Regions from separate parts of the Homo sapiens genome. Here region 2 is linked to region 1. The links are contacts of gene promoters, found by promoter capture Hi-C in blood cells and fetal thymus (Javierre and others, 2016). All regions are on one chromosome and are shown on one strand. The core of a region is centred on a gene start or on the middle of the fragment in contact, and the rest is flanking DNA. Distances in the headings are between cores, read along the strand shown. Region 1 holds the start of GLOD4 (glyoxalase domain containing 4). Region 2 overlaps ABR (ABR activator of RhoGEF and GTPase).

Region 1 (4,472 bases), core at 146-2,645:
TAATCCTAGGTCTCCACACCTTAAGATACACTGTGTAAGGCCAGGCATGGTGGCTCACGCCTGTAATCCCAGCACTTTGGGAGGCCGAGGCAGGAGGATCACCTGAGGTCACAAGTTCGACGTCAGCCTGGCCAACATGGTGAAACCCCACCTCTACTAAAAATACAAAAATCACCCGGGCATGGTGGCAGACGCCTGTAATCCCAGCTACTGCGGAGGCTGAGGCAAGAGAATCCCTTGAACCCGAGAGGCGGAGGTTGCAGTGGGCCGAGATCGCGCCATTGCACTCCAGCCTGGGTGACAGAACAAGACAAAAAAAAAAAAAGATACACTGGGTAATCACTAACCCATTATTCCTTGTGGCGTTACGAGGTCGGACCAATCCTTGATATCCTCAAATTTCACCTTAATGAGGCTGACACCTTTCAGCTTATCGACTGGCAACTCCTTTAGGTATTCTAGACGGCTAAAGAAGAACATTTTTGGCACAGCTCCAGCCTTGAGAGCGTCTGAAATGAGCCTGCGACCTTCCAGCAGGATCTTCCCTTGTTTTTCCCGAAATGGCCTGGACTTTACTATTGTCATTACACTGCTGTAGATGGAAATAAAAAAAAAAAACAGGTAACTATCAACATCCTTGTTACTGAGACACGCTTAGTTGTAACAGAAATAAAGAGCTACGGAGAGGGCCGGGCGCGGTGGCTCACGCCTGTAATCCCAGCACATTGGGAGGCCGAGGCGGGCGGATCACCTGAGGTCAGGAGTTCCAGATCAGCCTGGCTAACATGGTGAAACAAAAACAACAACAAAGAGCTAAGGAGAAACAGAAGCTAATTCCAAAGACGCTTATTCGGCCCTCTGTGCATAATACAAAAACCAGCGGGCTGTACTGGAAGAAGTCCTCCATCGGAAGGAGGTTAAGGTTCCGCTGTGCGACGGGAAGGGAAACGAGAACATTCGACAGGCTCAAGAACCACATCACCTCAGCCTCCTGTCCCCGGGATAAGCTTTATCGTAGCGAAGCCCAGACTCTTCCCAGGTGCTGGGAGCGCGGGATGCGGACTCCTCGAGCGGTTGTTTCTCTCGTTGCTCCTGGGCACTGGCCTCAGATGGTGCCTTGCGGGGCTGCTTCCCAGGAGCGCGCTTCTGTTCCACCACCTCTCCGGAAGGAAACACCACTTTCACTGGGCTCCGCCGCAGCGCCCGGACCCAGCGCCTCGCGTCAAGGTCCCAAGCCTGGACCACCTGCAGCAACGGTCGCACGACAAACCTCGCGGGTCTCACCAGCGCCGCCATGTTCCCTGAGACCCGGGCTGCGTCACGAAAGCGCGCCGTCGGCGGCTAGTGACGTCACGGCCCGTGGCGCCCTTCGTGGACTGGGCTGTACGGTGCGCGTGACGGCTGCGTGCGGCGGGAATCATGGCTGCTCGCAGAGCTCTGCACTTCGTATTCAAAGTGGGAAACCGCTTCCAGACGGCGCGTTTCTATCGGGACGTCCTGGGGATGAAGGTGCAGGCCGGGGCCGACAGGGGCTGGCGCGCGAGGCTGGAACCGGCGCCCGAGCCGGCCCTGGCGGAGGGAGGGGAAAATGGGTGTGTCGTGAACCTAAGCCGGAGGGTGTCCGACCTTAGGCCCTGCGCGGTGTTCAGCTTCAGGAGCGTGGCGAGTTGCCGTTGGGGATCATAGGCCTTGGAGAAGGGCCTAACACGATTAGTCCCCGCGGTGTGCCCACGCACGTCCTTTCATTTAAGCCACTCGTAAACGTTTATTGAGCCCCGCCCTTGTGGAGCTTACCGTCTACCGGAAAAGACGGTAAATAAAATGTTATATAATGCTTTCTAGTTAATATTTGTGTTTTCCGGTTTGGAGCCTTTGATGTAGATAAAATCAGCGTATTCAGAGTTCTGCTTCTAGCAAGGCTGGTCTGAATAGTCCGTTTCGGATACTCAGTCTCTGAATATATGCTCCAACTCTCAACCCATCTGCTTTTCAACAGCACCCAGAAGCGGTCTGTCTCGGGTCCTGAGGAGCTGTTATTTGCAGGATTCAGTTGGTTGGGGAACTGGGTTTTGGGGACCTCCTTTGATAAGCCAGGGAGGTAGGGAACACACCACTAAGGAAGACTTGAAAGGTGCAAGAGCGCGGTTTAGTGTATAGACGGTGCAATAGACGGGGATCTGAATTCGTCAGGTCATTTTTAAAATATCTGCTATTTTCAGGGTACTACGTTGAGTTTTGGCAACAAAGGTGCAAATGACCCTGATATATATCCTCCATTAGAGCTCATGGCCTGGGTTGGGGTGGGAGTTGGAACTGGATTTGTACGTAGATGATGGTAATGGAAGTCAGAATTTGATAGTGAAAAACCACCAAACTTTCGATAGCAGAAACCACAGAGCTGTCCCTTGTTAGTATTTCCTCGTCGATCAAAAGGTTGTTGCAAAGATTAAACACGTGCCGGCGCGGTGGCCCACGCCTGTAATCTCAGCACTTTGGGAGGCCAAGGCGGGTGGATCACTGGAGGTCAGGAGTTGGACACCAGCCTGGCCAACATGGTGAAACCCTGTCTCTACTAAAAATACAAAAATTAGCCGGGCATGGTGGCACACGCCTGTAATCCCAGCTACTCGGGAGGCTGAGGCAAGAGAATCGCCTGTATCTGGGAGGCGGAGGTTGCAGTGAGCCGAGATCGCACCATTGTGTTCCAGCCTGGATGACGAAAGCAAAACTCCGTCTCAAAAAAAAAAAAAAAAAAAAGATTCAACACCTTATTATATGTATAGTATTTAACATATCGGTAATAGTAGATTATATAAGTGTTAGCCACTATTATAAAAATACAAAAGAAGGAGCGGTTTTCCAACCTGGGTGATGAGGAAATAATTCATGTAGACCTTGTATTCGAGTTGACTTTTTTTTTTTTTTTTTTTTTTGAGGTGGAGTCTTGCTCTGTCGCCAGGCTGGAGTGCAGTGGCGCGATCTCGGCTCACTGTAAGCTCAGCCTCCCGGGTTCACACCATTCTCCTGCCTCAGCCTCCCGAGTAGCTGGGACCACAGGCGCGTACCACAACACCCGGCTAATTTTTAAAAATATTTTTAGTAGAGACGGGGTTTCACCGTGTTAGCCAGGATTCGAGTTGACGTCTAAAGATAGGATATCCACAGGTAGATGAGAGGAGGAGCTACATAGTAAAACTGAAGAGCCAGTGCGGAGATGGCACATGTTTGCGAAGCCGCTGGTTTTATGTGCCTTTAGTTGAGGTTGCTTAGTTGAAGTTAAGGAGATGGGATATCAGGATGGACAGGTCGGCATTGCTTCTAATAGTATCTTGAATGCTATGCTAAAGAATTTGGATTTTATGCTGCAGTAAGATGGGAGCTCACTTATGTTCTTAAACAGGGTGGTGATGGGATCAGTGCTTTGTGCTTTAGGCATGTGCTTTTTTGGTGTTATTAAGGAAGGATATCAATAAGGATTTTTTTATTTTTTATTTTTTATTTTTTTTATGTTGAGACGGAGTCTCGCTCTTTCGCCCAGGCTGGAGTGCAGTGGCGCAATCTCGGCTCACTGCAAGCTCCGCCTCCTGGGTTCACACCATTCTCCTGCCTCAGCCTCCCGAGTAGCTGGTACTACAGGCGCCCGCCACCACGCCCTGCTTATTTTTTGTATTTTTAGTAGAGATGGGGTTTTACTGTGTTAGCCAGGATGGTCTCGATCTCCTGACCTCATGATCCACCCACCTCGGCCTCCCAAAGTGCTGGGATTACAGGCGTGAGCCACCGCGCCCGGCCAATAAGGATGATTTTTAATAGTCTGAGCGAAGCGTTGGGAACTTCAACTGGCAGGAGCCGTGGGAATCAAAAAGGAGGGCTAAAGCTAACACGTTGAGAGCCCGCTGTGTGCAGGGTTCTGTGAGATGCTTTCATAACATCCATTCCCATCACATGTTAGGAGACTGAGACTCAGATTCTAATTTGCTCAGAGTTACACAACTACTAAATGACAGAATTCCAAATCAGACTTTTTTTTTTTTTTGAGTTTGAGTTTTGCTCTTGTCACCCAGGCTGGAGTGTAATGGTGCAATCTCAGCTCATTGCAACCTCTGCCTCCCGTGTTCAAGCAATTCTCCTACCTCAGCCTCCTGAGTAGCTGGGATTACAAGCGCCCACCACCATGCCTGGCTAATTTTGTATTTTTTATATTTTTAGTAGAGATGGGGTTTCACTGTGTTGGCTAGGCTGGTCTCGAACTCCCGACCTCAGGTGATCTGCCCACCTCAGCCTCCCAAAGTGCTGGGATTACAGGCGTGAGCCACGATGCCCATCTTTTTTTTTTTTTTTTTTTTTTTTTTTTTAATTTGAGATGGAATTTTGCTCTTGTCACCCAGGCTGTAGTGCAGGGGCACGATCTCGGCTCACTGCAACCTCCATCTCATGGTCCAAGTGATTCTCCTGCCTCAACCTCCTGAGTA
Region 2 (4,047 bases), core at 1,323-3,822, 290 kb before region 1:
TGTGAGAGAACTTCCTGGAGGGGCTGTTAGGGAGAGACGGCGACGAGCTGTGCCCGCAGACGTAGTAGCCCTGAGGCCAGGGAGAGGGTCTGCGGGGGCCAGGCACAGCGTGGCGATGGGTGGCGATGGTCCGGACGGCGGCGTTGCCAGCCGAGAGGGTGCCAGCGCGAGCCAGAGGGAGAAGTTGGGAGTTTCTTTGTTTCTGGAGAGAGGCGCGGAGGCTGGGCGGCACGGTATTGTGTGCTCCGCGCACATGCAGCAGTAGGCGGAGGACACGGAGGGGCTGTGGGAGCAGGAAGGAGAGGTTTGTTTCCAGCCGTGAGAGACCCCCAGCCGAGGTCTGGGCCCTCAACTGTGGAAGGCAGGTCGGCAGGGCCAGCGGGAGAGGGGTGTGGCAAGCTACTCTGTGAAGGTCACACACACACACACACACACACACACCACCTTTCGGTGGAAGGGACCCGGACCATCCTCCTTGCAGCTCCCGCAGCTGGCTGGGGGCTGGGGGGAAGTCCCGGGACAGGTGCATGTCATCAACACGACTGTCGGTCGTAGGAGGATGAAGCCGGCCCAGGTAGGGAGGTGTCCAGAAGCCCGTGGACCCTGCCTCAAGAGGCAAGACGTGCCAAGGGGTGCCCTGCCTGCCTGTGGCAGGGAGTGGGGTGGGCACGTGTGGCTCCCAGGCCGGCTGCTCTGGGCCTGAGTCTGTGGGAGCAGCAGGCGGCTGGTTTTAGGACCTTCCTCTTCCTTCCCACCAGGTGTTTCGGCTCTGCACCCTTCTCAGTCACTTTGCTTTCCTATCTCCCTGGTAACCTGGAGCTCCTTGGAGCTCCTTGTCGAAGGCTGACTTGAGGGGGATGGTGGCTTGCCGGAAGAGAGATGGCAGGTTTCCTGGGCTCCTTCCCAGGGGCGGCTGTGCTGGAGGGGCTGTGTGGGGCCAGTGCCCCCTGACCTTCTCAGGACCCTCTTGATGGAAGCAAGCTCTGAGGCAGCCTCTCTCCTGCGGCCCAGCAGGGCGGCTGCAGGAACCCTGTTCTCACTTGAAATTGGCCTGGTCAGCGATCAGAGGAGAAATGGTCTTTTTGGTCTGGCCTAGGAGTTGGTCAGGTCTTGACTCTGCCTCCCTGAAAAGGAAACGTACCCTTGGCTTCCTCTCCCTTCCCCAAAAGGAAGCTTCGACTCAGTGAAACGGACCTGGGACCTGGAGTTCACGTTGCTTCGGTCTCCGTGATACTGTTGTTGAAGTCGGCTTCAAAGTGGGGAATGAGGAGTGAAAGGGCCAGCTCGTGAGGAGGGGGCTCACCCCATCCTGGTCACTCTTTCCAAGAACGCTCCTGTGGTTCATTGAGGTTTTACAGGTGCTGCCTTTCCCTGAAGAAGGTGCAGCTCAAAGCAAGGAGTGCGGGTGGATCTACCCAGCTCCCACCACTTGTAGCCACAAGTCTCTGGCCTCAGTTGCCTTGTCTGTAAAATGGGGCTAGTGAGAATTGCTTCCCGTTTTAATCACAGGAAATAATGAGAGCAAAGCAGTTAACTCAGTACCCTTGGGCACAGAGCGAGTACCCAGCAAACTAGAGAGAGACCAGCTTGCTGCCCAAGTCAGTGTCAGTGGAGAGGGAGAGTGGGTGAGGCCGGGCAGGAAGCAGGCCAGCCTGCAGGAGCCCAGGGACAGGGGAAGGGCCAGAGCGAGTGCCTCACCCTGAGTTCTCAGGGGACCCCAGCGTGCAGGGGCCGTGGGGAGCACAAACTTCAGGGCCGCTCTTATTCCCCCGGTTCCCTCCGTATCTGATGTGGTCCCAGTGCCGCCACCCCCCCCACCCCCACCCCCCCCGTGCACCTGCCCTCCTGGCCGCCCTTCCAGGGCTCATTCCACAGCCTTACTCAGGTGGACTCTGGAGGTGACCACAGACATGTTAATAACCCCTCTGAAACCCAACCTGCCATGTGTTCAGACCTCTGAGCTTAGTCAGAAACCTCTTCCTCTTGGGACCCAAGAGAGGGCTGCGGGGAGCCGATAATGCAGTGTCAGCTTTCTGTGGAGCCGCCACTCCGGAGCCCACCCTGGCAGGTGTCTGCTGAGCTTGTGCTTTCTTTTGGGTCTCTGGGGTTCTCCAGTGTGATTTTTTCCCCCTGAAGATGGGCTGAGCCACAGGTGGGTGCCTTAAACAGCCTCAGAAATGGATCCCACCTGAGCTAGGACCTGGGCTGCACCCTCAGTGCCGAGGATACCCCAAGACTGGCCTCATTCCTTCAAGCTTCCATGGCCCATGGGGAGGGTCTCTGGAAACTGCTAGATAAGAAAGGGCTACAGATATGTCATATGAAGTGTATTTACGTAAACCAGTGGTTGGCCGGGTACTCATGCCTGTAATCCCAACTTTTGGCAGACTGAGGCAGGAGGATTGCTTGAGGCCAGGAGTTCGAGACCAGCTTGTATTTGGCTTGAGGCCAGGAGTTCGAGACCAGCAACATAGTGAGACCTTGTCTCTATATTTATTTTTATTTAAACGAAGACTCACTGTGTCGCCCAGGCTGGAGTGCAATGGCGCAATCTCAGCTCACTGCAACCTCTGCCTCCTGGATTCAAGAGATTCCCCTGCCTCAGCCTCCCAAGTAGTTGGGATTATAGGCGCCTGCCACCACACCTGGCTAATTTTTGTATTTTTAGTAGAGATGGGGTTTCACCATGTTGGCCAGGCTGTTCTTGAACTCCTGACCTCAAATGATCCACCCGCTTCGGCCTCCCAAAGTGCTGGGATTACAGGCGTGAGCCACCCTGCCCGGCCCCTCGTCTCTATATTTTTAAAAAAATTAAAATAAATACATAAATAAAACATAAAGCAGTGGTTTTCAACCATTATTATACATTCAAATCAGTAAAGAAGCTTTATAGAAATGCTGATGGCCCTTGTGGTCTTGCAGAGATTTGGGTTGAGTTGACGGGGCTGGGGAGCAGCATCTGTATCTTTTAACCGCTCCCCCAGTGATTCCGACAGGCAGCCAAGCTCGGACTGCGGGTAAGGCTGGTGGCCCTGCTGAGGCTGCATTTTCTTCACAGCCAGCAGATTGCTCCCTGAAGTGTCTGCTTAGCCGCGCACGGGGTATTTATATCTCAGGCTTTGGAGAACTATCAGGTTTGGGGCCCGGCTAGGGCGTGCGTGTTCACGCTGGGACCTGTCACAACCTGGTCTTATGGGACACCCAGTCTGGGATCCTTCTTCCCAGATGACCAACCTGCCTCTGTCACTGCCCCTGCGGCAGGAGGCCCAAGGTCATGACCCCAGGGACAGAGCATCCAGGTGCAGGACTGAAGCTGAGCCTCCTGTTGGGAGGGTGGGCGCAGCCGCGTACAGGAAGGGTGTTGGGAAGTGTTGATCCACCAGCTGCCACCTCCACCTGTCCCTGCTGAATCCCAGCCATCCTCACTTGGTGTCCGGGTTGTGGAGGGTGTGGCTCTTGGGGGCCTGGGCTGGCCTTGCCTGCGTCCTCCCAGCCTCTTTGGGGCTCTCATATGTGAGGCCTAACCTGAGTTGCTTCAGGAAACCTTTGCCCCTCAGGCTGCCACGTGTTTGAGAGCACAGCCTTTTTTCTTTTTTTTTGAGATGGAGTTTTGCTCTTGTTACCCAGGCTGGAGTGCAGTGGCATGATCTTGGCTCGCTACAACTTCCGCCTCCCGGGTTCAAGTGATTTCCCTGCCTCAGCCTCCCAAATAGCTGGGATTACAGGCATGTGCCACCACGCCTGGCTAATTTTTGTATTTTTAATAGAGATGGGGTTTCACTGGTTGGCCAGGCTGGCCTCGGGGAGCAGAGCCTTTCTGTGGAGATCAGGCCAGCCTCCTGGCCTCCAGCCTCCCTGCCTCCAGCCTTCCTGTGCTTTGCTATCTGGGGTTTGAGGATGTGGGGAGGGGTCTTTCCTCTGAGAGATGAGGCCAGTCCTGTGGATCACAGTGAGGCATGCCAATCCCAGCTGGCTGTGCCTGGCCTTCAGCTCCAGGAGCCTGAGAATGATAAGGTCTGGAGAGCTGCCCTTCCTGGAAACACAGCA

The links. Contacts are between HindIII fragments. The CHiCAGO score rates a contact against its expected background, and 5 or more counts as called.
Region 2: a contact is called between a fragment that was not itself captured here and the fragment with the promoter of GLOD4 in region 1, in 1 of 17 cell types (megakaryocytes). The highest score is 5.4, in megakaryocytes.

The regions. Positions count from the first base shown.
Region 1 is chr17:779,203-783,674 of GRCh38, reverse strand. It overlaps GLOD4 (glyoxalase domain containing 4), which reads left to right and starts at 1,395. Exons shown (of 9, transcript NM_016080.4): 1 at 1,395-1,509. The coding sequence starts at 1,420. MRM3 (mitochondrial rRNA methyltransferase 3) reads right to left here and starts at 1,322. Exons shown (of 4, transcript NM_018146.4): 1 at 983-1,322; 2 at 348-592. The coding sequence starts at 1,296. RefSeq lists enhancers at 795-1,343, 1,015-1,364, 2,365-2,464. The HindIII fragment of the contact is 3,821 bases long and covers 1,010-4,472 here.
Region 2 is chr17:1,074,499-1,078,545 of GRCh38, reverse strand. The region is part of intron 6 of ABR (ABR activator of RhoGEF and GTPase); the gene reads left to right. Among named protein-coding and RNA genes, the nearest start is that of MIR3183, 54 kb to the right of the region's middle. The HindIII fragment of the contact is 630 bases long and covers 2,258-2,887 here.